Regions from separate parts of the Homo sapiens genome. Here all the other regions are linked to region 1. Evidence: promoter capture Hi-C in 16 types of primary human blood cells and fetal thymus (Javierre and others, 2016). All regions are on one chromosome and are shown on one strand. The core of a region is centred on a gene start or on the middle of the fragment in contact, and the rest is flanking DNA. Distances in the headings are between cores, read along the strand shown. Region 1 holds the start of NDFIP2 (Nedd4 family interacting protein 2). Region 2 overlaps OBI1-AS1 (OBI1 antisense RNA 1). Region 3 overlaps SLAIN1 (SLAIN motif family member 1). Region 4 overlaps OBI1-AS1 (OBI1 antisense RNA 1).

Region 1 (4,951 bases), core at 2,141-4,640:
AATCCAAATCACTGTCTTTACTGCAGAATTTTTCATGGTTTTAATATGCTAATGTATTATAAATCTTCCAGTTACACTTACTATCATTCTGAAATACAGTTTGGGAAATTACTGCTACAATCAACACTGCCAATTTAACTTGTACACAGAATAAGAAGTCAGCTTGGTACAGGTACAATCTTAGAAGTCAGCTTGGTACAGGTACATAATCCTTTAAAATAGAGAACTTTGGCCGGGCTCTGTGGCTCACACCTGTAATCCCAGCACTTTGAGAGGCCAAGGCGGGCAGATTATTTGAGGTCAGGAGTTCGAGACCAGCCTGGCCAACATGCTGAAACCCCATCTCTACTAAAATACAAAAATTAGCCAGGTGTGGTGCACCACACTTGTAGTCCCAGTGACTCAGGAGGCTGAGGCAGGAAAATCACTTGAACCCAGGAGGCGGATGTTGCAGTGAGCCGAGATCACGCCACTGCACTCCAGCCTGAGTGACAGACACTCCATCTCAAAAAATAAAAATAAATAAATAAATAAATAATAAAATAACGAACATCAAAGTTAGAATGTGGTCTAGCAGCTGCAAGCCAAGTCAACTTCGTCATAGTTAGCAACACTGCTCATTTACTAACAAACAAAACTGAATTTCCCATAAAATTACGTGTCATACCTGGCTTTTTCTGAAATTAGAAGGGTAACAATCAAGAATTTTTGTAGCTCTAAACTGTTATCCACTGCTTTACTCAATAAATTTTGGATGCTTTTAACAATGAAAGGAAAGAAGAGATCACAGAAAAAGCAGTTTCTAGATAAAGCTTGTGCATTGGCTAATGGTAGTAAGTCCTTCTGATGACCCTGAGCATCACTGCTAGCTTTCCAGTATGAAAAGCTGTTTTTAAACTCTTTAAGTAAGTGAAAAATTAACATTGCATACCATCTCACCCCTAAGTATACTTGCCTATCTCCTGACTTAGTCATCCCTTAACATTCAACAACTCAAGTGGTTTATTGCTCCAGTTTATTAAGCATTCCAGTTTTCCCAAAAACTGAGCTAAAGGCAACCACAAAATAGTTGTGTTCATCATATAAGCCAGAGCTGAAGACTGATCCCTAGTTTAAAAAGTCTATTGAAAATGTCAATTCAGCTTTTTCTCTGGCATACACTGATGTTATTAATCAGGCCATTATAAACAAAACCAAGAGTTATACTAGATAGGTTAAATGACTACGTAAATTGTGTAACTCTAACACTAACATTGCCTTACAATGTTAGTTGTAAGTTGCCTTACAAGGAGAACAGATCGATGTCCTACCTAAAGTACTACCTTTAGAGGGACTGGTAGGCTTTATCTTTAGAAGAACTGATTTTTGCCCTCTGTTCTCAAGGAACATTCAAAGTCTATGTAGGACACATCGTCAGTTTGAAAAAAACGAGGGGAGGGGGCAGCAATAAAATATGCCCATTTATTTTGAAAGGAGTTGTTGGGAAAACAAATATCTTAAAACTGAGAGCTACATAAATTAACAGTGTTTTGGGTAGTGACGTCTGTAGGAAAAATGAAACAAGTTTCACTGCTGATATTATTCAATATTTATATCATTTTATTTTTGCTAACATTTACAAACCTAGAAATGCCTTTCAAACCATCAAAAGGGTGTACACTGACAACTTGAAAAACGCTTTCCATACTGGGAGAAACAGTATTTCCCAAGTTGTTGAGAAAAGCTGATAAATTTTCAAAGAATTCGGAATATGGACCTTTTGTAGGTTTTAAGGAATGCAAACCAATTGAAAATGGAAGCCTCATGAGCTTTTATCTTAGAAAAATGCAAAATTACATACTTTAGGATCTCATCTTACAGTTCCTTCATATTTGCCAAAATGTACTTATTAATAGAAAGTCTTGGCTTATAACCTGTCTTACATGTGCAAATAGATTTGAAAGTTGAAACCTGGGACTAACATACCTAAATTTGTAAAATTTTATAAACCATAAACTGCATCACCAGTGCTATGTATTGTTTTTCTCCTCTCCCTCAGTAAATGGGCTGAAAGTTTGTAGAATGACATGCTACCTAGCTGCAACAGCACAACAGCAGAGTCAACTATTGCTCAGTCCATCTTTAACTAAGGTTTACAACAGGAATCTCCAACGTCACCACCAGAATACACAAAGAAAAATATATTTAAAAATTGACACTGAAAATATAGAGGAACACATTTCACTTTTTTCAACATAGTTACCAAAGTTTACACAGTTAAGCTGGAAAACCTTGTATTTAACGAAAAATAATTTTTCAAACAAGATTAGAATTTGTTCTACTAAAACTACCTCTGTTTCCCCTCTAACCAAAAAAAAAAAAAAAAAAAAAAAAAAGAAAGAAAGAAAGAAAGAAAAAGTGGGGATTACCAAAAAATACAGTCATTTTTAATACTAACATAATGGAAAAGGACAAAATGACAAGGTTAACGAGCAGAGAGACAAGATCAGCATTATGGCTAGTCTTTCTCTACAGTTCCACAATTCCTAACCCACATTTTTGCCAAATCCACATCCCACCCCACGCAGTACTTACACCTCCACCCACCTACTCACCCACCCCATTTATGACGGCGATCACCTTCCGGGCAGGTATGTGAAGTCAGCCCCATTTCCAGTAGACAATCGACTAGAATGTCTCAGGAGTGACTGAGTCAGAGAATAAGAAAATGATAAAGTGAGAAATTAAAACGGATACAAGTTGTAAGGTGTGTGGAGGGAGGGCGTCTCACAGCGGGGCTAAGGGTGCGGGTGAGGAGCTAAGCAGACTTGGGGCGAGAGAGAAGGGTTTCGAAGGAGTCCTAGGCAGGAGTGCGCAGGTGAGGCGAGTGAAGCAGCTCCAGCCAGAAGATCCAAAAAAACAAAACAAAACACAACAAAAAAAAGCCACAGCTTTTCCTCCGGGAATAACCTGAGGAAAGGGACTCTCGGGACGCCGCGGCGGGAGGCAGTCCCGGGAGGCACAGGAGGCCGGGAACTCACCACCTGGTAGCGCCCAGTCCCCGGCTGGTGGTGATCCATCCTGCCCGGCTCGGGATCCGGCTTCCGAGAGAGGGAGTCTTCTCCGTGCTCAGCTCCCACGGCCACCCCCGTCGACGACGTCGTCGCCGCAGGGCCCCTTCCGCCTCCGTTCCTGCAGCCGCGGTCTCCCGGCGGAAGCTCTTCACTTCCTGTGGCTCCCGCAGCGGCCGCCGAGACCTCCGCGTTGGTCGCGGTTCCGCGGAGAAGCTCCGGGGCGCCGCGCGCGCTATTGAGCATGCTCGGACCGCTCGCGCAGACTCGCTGGCTCCGCCGGCGTGCCATCCGCGCCGCCAGTGGGAGGGTATAGCTGGGTGGGAGGAGATGGAAAAGTAAGGCAAGTCCGGGGGAGCTGTCTAGGTTGTCAACCTGTCGAGTGGGCGGTCGCAAAAGGCGCGCGGGGGGCGGGAATGACCCGTCCTTGATTGGTCTTTTCTGTGTGCGCGAGTTTCGCGCAGGCACGAGCCAGTGCGCCTTCTCACCACACAGAGACAGAGGCTGACAAGGGATGGGGCCGCGTTCCTAGAACACCTGAGGACAGGTCGCCCGGGTACCCGACACTTCCTCACCCAGCGTAGGACATGGGGAGGAGATTCATCTCTAGAACATTCCCAAAACGCTTATTCAAAATCATTCGTAAGATAAGCGATTTTTTAAAGACTAATATAGAGTAGTTAGAGTTTACAGAAAAATTGAGAAGTTACAGAGATATCCCATATACACTTGGCTCCTACGCATGCATAACCCCCCACCATTATCAACATCCCCCCTCAGAGTGGTACATGTGTTACGACTGATGAACCTGCATTGACACCTCATCATCACTCAAAGTCCATAGTTACCTCAGGGTTCACTCAGGTTGTTGTATACTCCTCGAGTTAGAACAAATGTGTAATGGCAGGTATCCATCATTATAGTATCCTACAGAGTATTTCCACTGCCCTGAAATTCTTCTGTGGGGTAATTTTTGTTTTTGTTTGTTGTTTTTTTAGAGATGGGGTCTCACTATATTGCCCAGACTGGAGTGCAGTGGCTGTTAGCAGGCGCAGTCATGGCTCACTGTAGCCTCGAACTCCTCGGCCCAAGCTATCCACCTGCCTCAGCCTCTGGAGTAGCTGAGACTACAGGCACTAGCTCTTTGGTTACTTTTTAAACTCTTTTTTCCACTTTTTGGTAATAAGAGATTTAAAAATCCAACGGACTCTCCAGACAACTCTCAAAGAAAGAGGTCTCTAGAGTTCTAGGTTACTGGAAGGACGTTAGAAGAAAGTAATGAAATCAGATAGGATTATTTTGTGGTAATACTCAATAATTCCAATTGATTTAACAGCAAGGAATCACTTGGGAGCACTGTTAGTAGTATCTCACTGTCTGGTTAACCACACATGACACGGCATAAAGCATATTTCTCTAGCAAGTAGAAGAGTATGACAGAGCAGCGAAAAGTACCTTTTAACCTGAAGACCAACGTTCTATACCCTAAAAACTATGATGCTGCTTGATGTGGCCCAGCTATGTTTTTAACATAACACCACATTTTCCCTAAATGATCTTACAGTGGAGCGCCCTGAAGGGAAGGAAAGGGATCTGGAGCCCCATTTATTTCCTTCATGAATGTCCAGAGGAGATCCTTGAAATGAAGACTGCCACTGGGTGAGCCTAATCAACTGGTTAAAATAGCAAGATAGAATAAAAACAGAAACTCTTTGAGAGATTGACAACTAAAAAATGTAAGCCTTCCTCATAGTTCTTTTTAAAGCATTCATCAACTCTTCCTATTTGTGCCGTTTTGACATGTCTAATAGCATAAAGCATTACTGTGCTAACAATAAGAGGCAGTGATATCTCATACTTAAATATTGTTAAACTTGCCTTGTTTTGATCTTAATGTATTT
Region 2 (4,414 bases), core at 1,369-3,868, 1.4 Mb after region 1:
GTATATAAAAAGGAGATTTATTATGAGGCATTGGCTCATGTCATATGGAGGCTAAGAATTGCCACAATCTGCATTCTGCAAGCTGGGGACCCAGGAAAGCCAATGGTGTAATTCAGTTTTAGTCTGAGAATGAATGGTGTAAATACCGGTTCAAGGGTAGAAGAGGAGATGGGATGTCCTACTCAAGTAGTGAGGCAGAACAAAAGGGATGAATTCTTCCTTTCTCCACCTTTTCTTATATTCGGGCTCTTAAGGGGTTGATGATTCCCACCCACATTGGGGGTGGCAACCTACCGAGGCCACTTATTCAAATGTTAATCTCACAAGCACCCTCACAGATACACCCCCAAAGTCACATATAATCTGGGCATTTCATGGCCCAACCAAGTTGACACATAAAATTAACCATCACAGGGCCCTTCATAATTTGGTGGCAATGATAAAACCTGCCCATCATTCAATACAATTGAATACAACCCTACCCATCCATTAAGTTTATGCTAAACCACACCTGCTCCATGGAGCCTTGCCTGACTCTCTTATAGGATGGGAAGCTGCACTATAATCCCATCACTCACCTTCTTCACCATTCTTCTCCACCCTTCTTTCGTGATCTGTCCTCTGCCTTCTCCCCAGCAAACATTTACTGATCACCTAATGTGTGAAAAGCTAACTTGACAACTAGTCAGGGACTATTTGTAAAGTTTTCTATATTGCTCTTGAGCTTTCCATGTTTCTTTGACTGGGCTTCCAAGCATGAGTGTAATTTCTGTGAAGATAAGGACTACATCTCATACTTGTTTGTATATCTTGCAATGCTTACAGTAGTGCTTTCAACAAAGTAGACTTAATAATTTTTTGTGTGTTAAATGTATTTGCCCCTATAACTTTTTAAACAAAGTGATGATGTTCAACTTGATGTAATTAATCTTACATAATTGTGAATTTTGTTTTATGAGACAATGTAAAGTCGAAATAAAAATTGAGGAAATTTGGAATCTGAGTTGATTCCTGGTTCCATCACTTCTTGCCCGTGTGACCTGGAACAATGCATCTAATCTACCTTTGCCAGAGTTTTGTCACATACAAAATGTGGCTAATAACATCTATATAAAGTACTGCAGAGGGCAGTGGTAAGGATCAAACGAGACATGAAGAATGCTCAGGATTGTTCTTAATGTTCTTGTGAAAGGTGCAAATATACCTGTGAAAGGAAAATAAATCTTGCAACCCCCATATCACTAACAAAGGGAAAAGTCAAGCTAAGTACTGCAGACAAATCTGCCTCCCATTCTACTCCTAAATAAAACAGCTACAAAGATTAAAAAGATAAATACCTCTCTCCCACTTTGTCTGCAAAGAAACTCCTTGTGGATAAAGGACAGACAGAACTCAGTCATCTTTCTGCTCACGTGAGACAAATGCATATCTGATTGCTTCCTTTGCCCTATTGTTTCACTAAGCCAGACTAAGGCATAAGTGACTATTCCTGTAAATCGTATATTCAGTGACAGGCTAATCAGAAACTTACAAGAATGTAACCATTTGTCTGTTATTTACCTATGACCTGGAAGCCCCTGCCCCACTTCGAGTTGCCCTGTCTTTCCAGACCAAACCAACGTACATCTTAGACATATAGATTGATGTCTCACGTCTCCCTAAAATGTATGAAAGCAAGCCGTGCCCTGAACCCCTTGGGCACATGTTGTGAGGACCTTCTGAAACTGTGTCAGGGGTGTGCCTCCTTAACCTTGGCAAAATAAACTTTGTAAATTGATTTAGACTTGTATCAGATATGTTTTGGTTTACATTCTAAAGTCATCAGCTACGTTGTTATTTTCAGGACAAATGAACTCTCAATTGCTTAACACCTAACAGGTAGTTCTCACTCAAATTCAGCTGTAGGTCAATGAGGGGAGGAACACACAGAGGCCCCTGCTCAACATAGGCTCTCAAGCATCTAGGTTGATGGACACTCCACTCTCTGGAACATCTGCAGTACCTGCCGCAGCAGAGGCAGATGGGGATCATGGGCTGGGTCCTCCGTGTGTGGACCCGTAAGTGACCCATCAGTACCGCCCAGAAGCAAGAACAGCAAGGGAGTTGGAAAGTGCAGGGGAGCAGATTAAGTGATTGACGAACCTCCTGTCTCCGCGACGGATAATAATGGGATCTATAGAGAGAATGGCAGCAAGTAGAGACACAGTTGAAAAGACGTAAAGGTCACAACAAAGTCATTTCTGGAGTCAGATTTCAGAAATATAAATTTTTGAAGGAATGCTGTTGAATTAAATATTTTAACATAATACTCATTGTTTGACTTCTGAAAAGCAGTACTTCCCAAAACTTTATTATTACTTTTCATGTTTTAAATTCATGTTTCAAACTTTTTCACGGATTACAGATGGAAAGAATCTTGTTTTTAGAATCAAAAGTTGATCTTAGCCATTATTTTCAGTGTGAACGTGTTTTACGTACCAAACCTGCACTTCTTGTTTGCTGCCAGCAGGGGGAGGTGTAAGAATTCTTTAAGCTTCCTCACTAAACTTAAGAGAAGCTGAAAGGGGCAGAGAAAGTGACCGATTATTAATCATTTCCCTAAAATCAGCAGGGTTTCCTGCAGAGAGACACTGATTATCTTGGAATGTTTTGAATATAGGATCCATTAGAATAACAAAAAGCACTTGAAAAAAAAAAGCTTGTGTAAAGATGCTCTAAGTTTTTCTCTGGTTTTGTTTCATTTTTCCAAAATAAAATTTGTGACTATAGACTGCTTCACTTTTGGGGGGATGAGCTCCTGTATATTTCTGACATAGAAATACAGAAACGAGTCACCTTTATCTGAGCCTATGAATTCTCTGATTCTGTTAGGGAGCTGAGTCCTTCATTCTTTTCTGCTGTTCCTTAAAATTTCTTACACTTTCCCAGGAGTAACTGCTGATGTCCTATCAGTGACTGCACTACACCTTTGCTATCCTGCTGATTATTCATCAATGTCCTTTCTCCGTGATTAAGAGGTGTCACATCATCGCATATGATCAACTTCCTGACTTTTACTCAGGGGTTTAATGGAAGGGATTGTTTTTTGGTTTGTTGGTTTGTTTCTTTGGCCTCTCTAGCTCATAAGAAAAAGTATCTGAATTATATGTAAATCTTATATTTTCTTCTTAGATGAATTTTAAAGTGTGTGTAAAATGAAGAAAATATTACACTAGAGTAGAGGAAAGAGAAGCTAATAAAATTTTCATCTAAGAATAATTTTATTGTTTTTCTGTTCTTTTTTTCTGGTTGTCACTTTGTGCAATCAATCCAAATAATTCAGATCACAAAACTATCTCTTCCTTTGATTCTCATATAATATGGTACTTAGTTAAGTCTTTGGCATTTTGATCCAAACGTTTTTCTAAACCTTCTATCTGCTTTTGTCTATATAGCCGTGGCTATATAGACGATCTAGAATGTGGCATATTGTTCATCTTTTACGCTCAGTGAATTATGAGATTATCTAATTTGTTGCATAAATACATACAGAGGTATCTTTATGCTAGAGTTACAAAAAGTTACACTGCATTATTCAGAATTTTAAAAACTTACTTTAAAAAATTAAGTCTACTATATAACTCCATATCCTATTGCTATGGTTTGGCTCTGTGTCCCCACCCAAATCTCATCTCATATTGTAATCCCCATAATCCCCACATGTCAAGGGAGGGACCTGGTGGGAGGTGATTGAACCATGGGGATGGTTTCCCCTATGTTGTTCTCACGATAGTGAGTGAGTTCTGACAAGATCTGATGGTTTTATAAGTGTTTGACAGTTCCTCCTTCACAGGCTCTCTCTTGCCTGTTGCCATGTAAGATGTGCCTGCTTCCTCTTCTGCCATGATTGTGAATTTCCTGAGGCCTCCCTAGCCATGTGGAACTGTGAGTCAATTAAACTTCTTTTCTTTTTAAATTACCCAGTCTCAGGAAGTTCTTTATAGCAGTGTGAAACTGACTGACACATCTATCATGTATGATTTTGGAAAAAAATATTATCAAAATAACTTCAGTCTCTAATATGTTTACTAAGAAATTATAATTTTAAATTGCAATTTTCCACAACTTTCTTACTTTCGTTTTTTGTTTTTCTGTTTGTTTAAGAGATGAGGTATCACTGTGTTACCCAGGGTAGACTCAAAATCCTGTGCTCAAGTGACCCTCCCTCATCAGGCTCCTGAGTAGCCGGCACTGCAAGCACACACCATCATACCAGTTTCTACTTTCTTTAAAAAGTGTTGCTTTAAATATTTGCTACTAGGAATAAAGTCTTATGACAGACATATTAACTTTTAAAAGAAGACAACCTTAGATCAGAGTCTCTTGAAAGATTAAATGTCCTCTGTTAAATGTAAACAGTTCACCAATTTGGGAA
Region 3 (4,854 bases), core at 2,335-4,834, 1.8 Mb after region 1:
TTCTCCAGTAAACAACCTAATTGGTTACTTCTTATCTCAACAGGATTATGGATTATGGATCTCTGGAATAAAAACATTTAGTGTCACAGCAAAAGAAGTTTTGAGTTTATATACAAATTAAGTAAAAGACTAATTTTGGTTTTGAAAAACTCGTTCTCTAAACTTTTACAGGAAGTTTAAATAAATTACATCATGAACAAAACTGCAGTATGCCAGTTCCTATCCTCATGACCTCACGATTCTGCCTGAGCTCCACATCAATGAAAGGAAAATCGGATAATGAAGCACTTAGTCTAATATCTCAATAGCAACCACCAATTAGGATTACTTTTTAGAAAAGAAAAAAAAACCTAACCTTATATGTAAATGTATCTAGTGTGCAAATGACATAATGCTTATATGTATGTAAATCTATCTAGTGTGCAAATGACTTAATGCCGGGGTGGGTAAACTGTGGCCGAGAGTACCCCAAATCCAGCCCACTCCTGCTTTTGTAATAATTCACCAGCTAAGAAATGTTTTCATATTTTTTTAATAATTGGGAAAAATATATACATTTTGTGACACGTGAAAAACCACACAAAATTCAAATGTCAGGGCTTGTAAATAAAGTTATATTGGAATGCATCCTCATTCATTAATTTCTGCATTGATCATTGTTTTCTGGGCATGGCTAAGTTGAACAGTCATGACAGAGATTATGTAGCCCACAAAATCTAAAATATTGACTATCTATCTCCTTTCAAAAAAAAGTTTGTTGACCCCTGAGATAAAGGACTAATTCTGAATTCAATTTGAATTTTACTTCAAATTATTGAGCCAAATTTGTATGTTAAAATGTAGATATAAGTCACTGAGTCAAGGATTAAGTAAGGAGGCTTAGGAATGGTCTATATAACCCTTCAAAGAGTTAATCCAAAGGGATTTAATGGTTTGTGTATTAGTCTGTTCTCACACTGCTACAAAGATACTACCTGAGACTGGGTAATTTATAAAGAAAGGAGGCTTAATTGATTCACAGTTCCCCATGGCTGGGGAGGCCTCAGAAAACTTGCAATCATAGTGGAAGGTAAAGGGGAAGCAAGGCACATCCTTACATGGTGGCAGGAGAGAGAGAAAGTGAAAGAGCGAGGAAGTGCCACACTTAACACCATCAGCTCTCATGAGAACTCCCTATCATGAGAACAGCATGGGGGAAACCGCCCCCATGATCCAGTCACCTCCCACCAGGTGCCTCCCTCTACATGTGAGGATTACAAATGGAGATGAGATTTGGCTGGGAACACAGAGCCAAACCGTATCAGTTTTCTTCGAGTCACTTAGGTAAATGGGAACAGAATGAATACTACAGCCTCCGACTCTGAGATGGCTGCTCTGTTAGATGAGCATCTATCACCAAAGTTTTAACCCTAACATGCCTTTGTCCCTACACTGCTCTTCAACTTTCCATTATTAAGTCACCTGTTTCATTTCAGTTAAAATGTTAATAAAATACATTCTTTCATCCCACCTTCCGAGTATTTAACAGATTTCTGTTGATATTTACTTATGACCATGCCAATACGGCAGTACAGAATACTAATTAAGTATGGAGACTCTGGTTTCAGAGAGACCCTGGCTCTGACTCTGTCCCTGAGTATCATTCTGCCTTGTAACCCTGGGAACTTCTCTAAACTTCGTATTTCTCACCTCTAAAGATGAGTTCAGTTACACTGAATAAGATGAAGGATGTCAAGAATGTAAAGGTAATGAATGTCATAGAATTAAGAGCTCTTGAAGCATTATCTATAATGCTTTGTCTTATGTCCAAACATGTTATTCATTATCCTCAAAGAGCTTCATGGGCAGCGTTCTCAAATATCAGTGTACATGAGAATCACACTGGTGAACTTCTCAATGCAGACTCCCCTGACTCTACCCTCAAACAGTATCATTCTTTAATCTGGAGGCTCCGGAATCTGTACTTTGAAGCTCATGTATGATTTGGATGCAGGTGGTCCATGGAATAGAAACAGTGTTCCCAGAGGATCAAACAGATGCCCAGAGGTTAAGAGACAAGCCAAAAGCCTACATAATTACAGCTTCAAGTAGTTCCCTGCATCAAATAGCAAGGAACTGAGTACCACTCATTCATTTTTGCTGTTTTTCCAACTGCCCTTTTTTTAAATTTAAACTTCTGTTAGGCTCCATAAGTTAATTAATGTTACAGACAATATGAAGATTTCTTAGTTTTTAAAGGTTAGCACTTCCAGTTATACATCCAACTAAATGTTAAAGACACTCAGTAAGGTCAGTACTCAGATCCCCATGAAATCCTGTTTTCTGCCTTAGAAAACAGCCACACAACCTTGTTACTGACCCCAGAGCACTGATAACTGACAATTTTTTTGACTGGTATATTTGCAAACAGAAAAAAAAAAGAAATAAATTTGTGTGTTCCTACATTGCAATATGAACTAAAGCAAACTAAAAATATGGCTAAAATCAAGCACAAAACTAAACACATCTTACATTGAGAAAGCTTGATGTGTAATACATGTGAAGCAAATTGCATGCAACAGCTGCACCTCAGGGTAAGAATTTTCAATTGAAATGTTTATTCCAAAACCAGCAACAAAAGCAGCACTGAGAGTGACAAGAGTTGGAGAATGTAAATGCACACACTCACAATTACCTTGCTCCAGTCTAAAGCACAGGGAACGTCTCGCTGCTTCCATCTCAGGAGTTGGGTTATCTAGGACATGTCTACACCACTGCAAAGGAGTCAGGGATTTCTCTGATGAGGTGAACGTCTTTGAAGAGCCAATGTATAACCTTAAAAAAAGAAATCTACATTATAGGTATGATATAGGTATACAGAGAGTACCTCTCTCTGGGGAAAGCAACATGTATTTAACAATTTCCATAGAAACAGAACTCATATTTGATGACTTCAAAGTATCAGAAATAGTTTTTAACAGGCAAATATCCCCAAATAGAATATGACACTTCCTGTAGCCTGGTGAGAACTTCCAAAAAAAGGTCTAACAATTTTCCCCCTAACTGTGTGTTTCAGCATCAGAGATCAAGGGCTTTTTTTTTTTTTTTAACTAAACTAGCCCTAAAAAGGCACTATCATGATCTTACTATCTCTATTGACATGTCAAGAAATGAACATTTTCATCTTTCTCTTTGGCAACAGAATCTTTTGTAAACTTGGGCTAATGAAGGTAAACATGATGTGACAAACAAGGCAAATCTTATGTGTATTTTTTAAAAATAAGTCTAAACACCCGTAAAAGCCAGTCACTTGATTCTTTGAACCCTTACATAATCACATATTTCTCCTGTCTCAAATCTATACTAACCTTGGTATATGTTTCTTTTTCATTAAAGCCAAACAAAGAGCTTTAAAAGATATGTTTTACGAAGACTTCACTTTCAGCACCTACACAATTACACAGTAATGGATAGTATTCAAAATGACTACCCGGAGGCACTGCAAGTTATAAAAAAGCTTCTCTCATTAATATGCCATGTTAAGGTAGATTTTAGAATATTTTCAGTGATAGGGCTATACAGAAAGGTTTATCTTGAGGAATAAACAGCAGTTAACTAAAAAAGGGGGGAGGGTGAATTACCTCCCCAAAACTGCTGGCTCTAATACGTGACACCTTACTACTATAAGCTTACATTAATTACAAATCTAAAGTAATCTTCTTTCCAACAAAGCTACCACAATTCTAATAAGCACATATTCTTGAAATAACATACTTCATTATTCATACTTTCACTGTTCTAGACAAAACGTTCACCTATTAGAGTAATTTATCAGTTATACAAGATGGTTGGGGAATGTACTATTCTTCAGTAAATTATTCTTACAGATCAGGGATTGCCAAATGTTTTCTGTAAAGGACCGGCAAGTAAATATTTCAGGCTTTGTAAGCCACATGATCTCTGTCACAACTACTCAGCCCTGCCATTCCAGTCCAAAGGCATCCTAGACAATATGTAAGCGAATAAACGTGGCTGTGTTCCTTTAAAATTGATTTATAGACATTGAAAGTTGAATTTCCCATAGTTTTCACATTCTTTGTATTTTTTTTCATCATTTAAAAACATAAAACCGTATCTTACCCACCATACAAAACATGCAACGGCTCTGATTTGCCCTTGAGACAGTTTGTTCACTCCAGTTACAGGTAAGGACTCTAAAATATAGATCTCAATGGATTTAATTGTAAGTCCAATATATTTTTTTTTTTCCTTAGAGTGTGTTGCACAGTTGTGACTCCATCAAGAGTATATATAGTTAAAAATCATATTCTTGGGCCCCAGCTCAGTCCTACTATGGCAAGATTATCACCTACCTATGTAGGTAATAATCCCTTCCACTTCCTTGCAACATAGCCTAAACTGCCCAGTACACGGTACTTCTCCCTACTCACAAGTATAGGTTAGTCCAGGCTAGTTATTCTCAATGTCTCATGCCTCAAAATTACTTAAACATCTTGTTAAGACAAATTGCTAAACCACACCCCTTAAAAGTTTGATGCATAGGGTCAAAGAATCTGGATTTCTAAGCAGCTTCCAGGTGATGCTAATATTACCGGTCTGGAGACCACATCTTGAGAGGCACTCAGCTAAGCCAATCATGGTATTTTCATTGTTCCCCTTTGCCTGACTGGTTTAGGCCCACGCCCCAGACACAATCCTAGCCAACAGAAACTGAGAGAAAATCATCTGATAAGCTTGCGGACAAGTTTTTCCTTAAAGGGAGGTGGAAGTGTCACAAAAGACTCAATTATATGCTTCCTACAGGAAACGCACCTTAAACATGGGCAAACAAATAAGTTAAAAGTAAATAGCCAG
Region 4 (4,670 bases), core at 1,675-4,174, 1.3 Mb after region 1:
AGCTAAGATCTGACTCATAAACAATGGGCTACTGAGTTGTGGCTATCTAATTTTTTAAAAGATGGTCAAAAGTCTTTATTTACATCCAGCATTAAAATGGAATTATACCACTTTCTTCTAAGATAAAGTGGAGATGTCATCATTCCCATTTTGCAGATGCATAAACAAGCTCAGAAAAGATAAGAAACACATCCAGTGTACCACAGCTGGAAAGTGTGGCAAGTTAGATTTAAAAGCAAATCATTAGGGAACAGGAAAGGGAGTGAGTGAACAACTGAGAGATAATATAATTAAATATTAAACGGAAATGTGTCATCTTGATAACCTAATGATGTAGCAAAATCTCCAGAAATACTTCCTAATATTTAAATATGTAGGGAAGTGGAGATTTTTCCATGCTGTAATTCTTCTTAAATTTAATCTTTATTTATAGCTCTTATTAATATGGTAGCAATATGGAAAATTAATGTTTGAGACTTTCTTTTTTCTTTCTTTTAGAAAAGGGAAAGCATTCAGTGTTCAGGTGACTTGTGCTAAAGATAAAAGGATGAAAAAAATGGAAGCTGTGGAAATTTCCTCATGTCTTATCATTGGAAATTATATTGCATCACCAAGTTTTCTGGTTTACAAAACAATAGCATAGTAAAACTATGTTTTAAATGCTGTACCAGCTAACCTAATTAGCCTACTTTACAGATAGGGAATCTGAGGCCCAGAGAATGAAGTTACTCAACTAAAGTCACATAGGTATTTAATGGTAGATCTAGGGTTCTATTCAGCGTATCACGATTACAATGTCTGATTTCTTTTCCTTAATATGGTCCATATCCTCTCATTAGGCCATTCCTCTTAGCAGCTACAAATTTGTAGATGATGTATTTCATAATTAAGTGTGGTTAAACAAATTAAAATTTCCACCTAGACCAGAAGGTCCTACAAACAAAATGTTTCCAATTAGCATTGTCTGTGCAGCCAGTAAAGGTGTGAAAATGGACAAGGTTAAAACTGGCATAATAACTATTTGAAGAATGGTTAAATAGACCAAAGCTGTTGCCCTTTTCCTATCTCCCAAAACAGTGTGATTCTGTTCTCTTCTGAGCCTAGAAAATATCTGACAGTCATCATTTTTTCGTAAAATTTATGTGCAGATTTTTGCAAACCAAGATTAACAGACAATGAAGGAAGGGCTGATCTGAGTGTATGAGTATAGATATATAGATATATAAAATATATGTGTGTGTGGGGGGGTATATTGTTTTTCTATTCATTGACTTTTGAAAACAGAAAGCTCCTTACCATCTAAAGGAATATATCCAAAATGGTGAAGTGTCAAGTGGTATGATTTGGTTGAGATGCACAAATGTTCACTGAAGACCAGGTGGGTTTCAAGTTAAATACCTGAAGATATATAAGACATAGTATCTACTTTGCATTAATATTTTTGCAGGCCGGGATCCCTGACTTCTCTCCCTCTAATCATTTCAAATTAGTAAATCAGGAAATCCCAAAATCTGTTGGGAAGGACTGTTAGAAAATGTTAGGTCCTAAAAGCATGGAACCAAATTCTGGCTCTGTCACTTTCCCACTGTATTTCTTTGGTGAATTTTTAAAATTTTGATGAATTTCTTACCTAGAGTGACTGTATTCTCTGATCTCAGAGAAGTCCTGGCTTATACTTGTTGTCTCGGATTAATTAACAAGACCTTCCTCTTTTCAAGAGCTCCTCATTTTCTATAATAAATTATATGATGACATGTCAACTTCAGAATGGTTTTAAGAATTAAATGAACATATGTGGCTGTGTGTATAAAAAAGCTTGAAAAATGTACAAATGGAGGTTAAAAATGAGAAATCCAATAAATGAATAAAAGATTAATGAAGAATGAAGATTTTATTAGTATTTTAAGATATAACCTTTTCAGCATAGGCACAAGCTCTTTCCAAGATCTTGGATTAATTTTTCATAGTATGAACATATGGCAAGTGTTTTTCCTAATATCACTATGTGGCAGAAATAGATCCCATGTCCAGATACATATATTTCATGGATCCAGTGACATTGATTTACTTTTTATTTACTTTGAAGTCATTGGGATACAAAGAAATATAACATTGTAAATTCAAATGTTTTCTTTGCAAACCAAAGGGCTTTGTGATCACTTATTTCTTTCTCTTCCACCAGAAGATGAGTAGCATGTAATATTCTCTCTGAATCATATATGAAAAAGCACAGGACTTACTTCTCAAGCGGCAGAGCCCTGGAGGATTATTCCACTAGAATAACCACTTGCGAAAATATCTCTACAAGATAATGCAACTTGAAAAAGAAGACCCAAGGTGACCCCTTAATTACTAACATTAGAACTCAAAGCTCTTGGAGATCTAGGGGTTTTTCACTTTAATACTTAGCTAAATAGGTTAAGATTATAGAATAGCCTAAACAAAGTCAGTATTGATATTGTTTGTGGAATATGGAAAAATATTTTCCAAATTATTAAGAGACAGCCTTAAAGGATCCACTAAGACAAAAGGCAAAATGGACCCCTCATCCTCTGACCTGTGTAGCAATAAGCTAGGTTTATGGCTTGCCTGCTCACCTCAGGAAGTGGTAATAACAGCCATTATTTTCTGTGGAAGCAATGCCTGTAACCATGTCATCCTCTGATAAATCATACCAGTTGCATCTTATTATCACACCGATGGTTCAATTAACTCACATCACCACTCAATTTATCAAATTAAAAAGGAAGGGTTTTGTGTGTTCTAATAATTGTTTCATTAACATAAAACTAGTTAAGAACCAAGAAGCTTCAGATCCAGATTCATAATGTCTTTATGCAGTTTTGTTTTGATTTTGCTCTGATAGTCGTACACTGACACATCTTGTGTTCTATTAGTTGTCATTATTATTCTTTCATTAACATACATATGGCTATTGAATGTGGCAGGTTTTCATAGAAGACAAACACAATATTACAGAACAAAATGGTGACCATAATTTTGAAGATCTAGGCATGTTTTTAAGCATTACAAAAGCTTTAAAATAAGCATTGTCATCAGTTCAGTATGGAAGTGGTGTACTAATGAAAGAGCTACGTTAAACTAATATATTCAAGGACTTTTAAGATTAGAGAGTAAGGAATTTCAGAGTAAATTTTAAATGATTCTTAGAAATTTTTATCTAACTAGAACAGATAATTCTGTTGTTCTATATAAATAAATCAAGGAAAAGATATATTTCAGAGGCATTGCCCAGTGAAAATTAATTTTGGAAATTTTAAGTCAGATGGTTGGAGAATGTCAGCCATACTTTAATAGTTTCACAGCAACTTCTTCCAAGCAGAGTTGTACAATCATGTGTTTAAATTAAACTTATCACTACACACTAATAATAATGTTATATTGTCCCGTACTTATCAATTTTCACAACTCTTTCACATTATTTTACCCTTACAGCAACTACATAAGTTAAATATGATCCTTCCCATCTTACAGTAGGAACCAAGGTTCACAGGGGTTATGTCACCCAAGTTGAGTCATCCTGGTATGTGTCCATGCCAAGACTAAAGTATAGATGGTCTAGTTAAAAGACACTTGTCTTGAAATCAGAAAAACAGCTTCACTGTTTATTAATGGAGATATAGTTAAAATCTGATTGCCATGTTTCTCATCTCTAAAGTGAGGCTTCTACCACCCAACATAATGAGTGTGTTAAAATAAAATGTGTGAGTAAAAGCACTTGGCACATTGCATACACACTCAAAAAATATCCTTTATTTCTCCTGGTGTGATGCCTTGCTACCTTCTTTACTTACTTAAACACTACCAAATGGAGGTGGCCATGTGGGTCATGTTTCTGGTAACACCTACAACTGATTCTGTGCTGGTCTCTTTTTATCCTAATAGATTCCTCTGTTTATGGCAATGGTGATCATTGAGAATGGCACTTTGACCATCTCTACTTGGATAACCATAAACCCAAGATTCCTCATACAAAATTTATCTCATTCTTACCCTATTGGTTGTTATTTAGACTTTCTCTTCTCTAATCAGGCCATATCTTCATATAATTCAGAAATTTTAAAACAGCTTTTATGTTTTTTTATTTAATTCTCACAACAGCCCAGGAATACAGGTATCCCTTCTCTCAGTTTGGACTAATTTTATCACTATTATCATAGTCTTAGGGACTCAATCCCTGCTCTCAGTTTGGACTAATTTTATCATTATTATCACAGTCTTAGAGACTCAGAACATTCATACATTTTCACCTCTTCCCTACCTGGTTATCTGAATCCAATTAGGCATGAAGTCCTGTCCTGCCAATTTCAGCTTTGAATTGTCTTTCACATTTTATTCTTTCCGTATATTTCCACTTTCCCTACTCTATTTTAGGCCCTTTAGTTACACAGTTGGACTGCTGTAAAAAACTTTTCAGTTGGTCATTCTGCCTCCAATAACTCCCTATATCAACCTCTTCATGTTTATTCCTAGGTAAACCTTCTAAAATAGTACTTCAATCATGTCATCCCTATGCTCAGGGCCTGAGGGTATCTTCCTGTTGCTTTCAAGACCAAGTCTAAATTCTTTAGCACAGCATCAAAGATCTGTCCTCATTTTTGTAATTTTATCTCCCTGTGTATCCATATGAAATAGGTCTACTGTTATTT

The links. The method cuts DNA at HindIII sites, captures the fragments that hold promoters and counts their contacts. A CHiCAGO score of 5 or more calls a contact.
Region 2: a fragment that was not itself captured here is called in contact with the fragment with the promoter of NDFIP2 in region 1 in 1 of 17 cell types (total B cells); the score reaches 5.5 in total B cells.
Region 3: a fragment that was not itself captured here is called in contact with the fragment with the promoter of NDFIP2 in region 1 in 1 of 17 cell types (non-activated CD4 T cells); the score reaches 6.5 in non-activated CD4 T cells.
Region 4: a contact is called between a fragment that was not itself captured here and the fragment with the promoter of NDFIP2 in region 1, in 1 of 17 cell types (naive B cells). The highest score is 5.2, in naive B cells.

What each region holds. Positions count from the first base shown.
Region 1 is chr13:79,479,594-79,484,544 of GRCh38, reverse strand. It overlaps NDFIP2 (Nedd4 family interacting protein 2), which reads right to left and starts at 3,390. Exons shown (of 8, transcript NM_019080.3): 1 at 3,021-3,390. The coding sequence starts at 3,341. NDFIP2-AS1 (NDFIP2 antisense RNA 1) reads left to right here and starts at 3,314. Exons shown (of 3, transcript NR_046685.1): 1 at 3,314-3,393; 2 at 4,615-4,709. The HindIII fragment of the contact is 10,753 bases long and covers 815-4,951 here.
Region 2 is chr13:78,119,774-78,124,187 of GRCh38, reverse strand. All of the region lies in intron 1 of OBI1-AS1 (OBI1 antisense RNA 1), which reads right to left. Among named protein-coding and RNA genes, the nearest start is that of OBI1-AS1, 67 kb to the right of the region's middle. The HindIII fragment of the contact is 165 bases long and covers 2,536-2,700 here.
Region 3 is chr13:77,717,492-77,722,345 of GRCh38, reverse strand. It overlaps SLAIN1 (SLAIN motif family member 1), which reads right to left. Exons shown (of 7, transcript NM_001242868.2): 2 at 2,675-2,814. Among named protein-coding and RNA genes, the nearest start is that of MIR3665, 22 kb to the right of the region's middle. The HindIII fragment of the contact is 171 bases long and covers 3,499-3,669 here.
Region 4 is chr13:78,143,416-78,148,085 of GRCh38, reverse strand. The region is part of intron 1 of OBI1-AS1 (OBI1 antisense RNA 1); the gene reads right to left. Among named protein-coding and RNA genes, the nearest start is that of OBI1-AS1, 91 kb to the right of the region's middle. The HindIII fragment of the contact is 228 bases long and covers 2,811-3,038 here.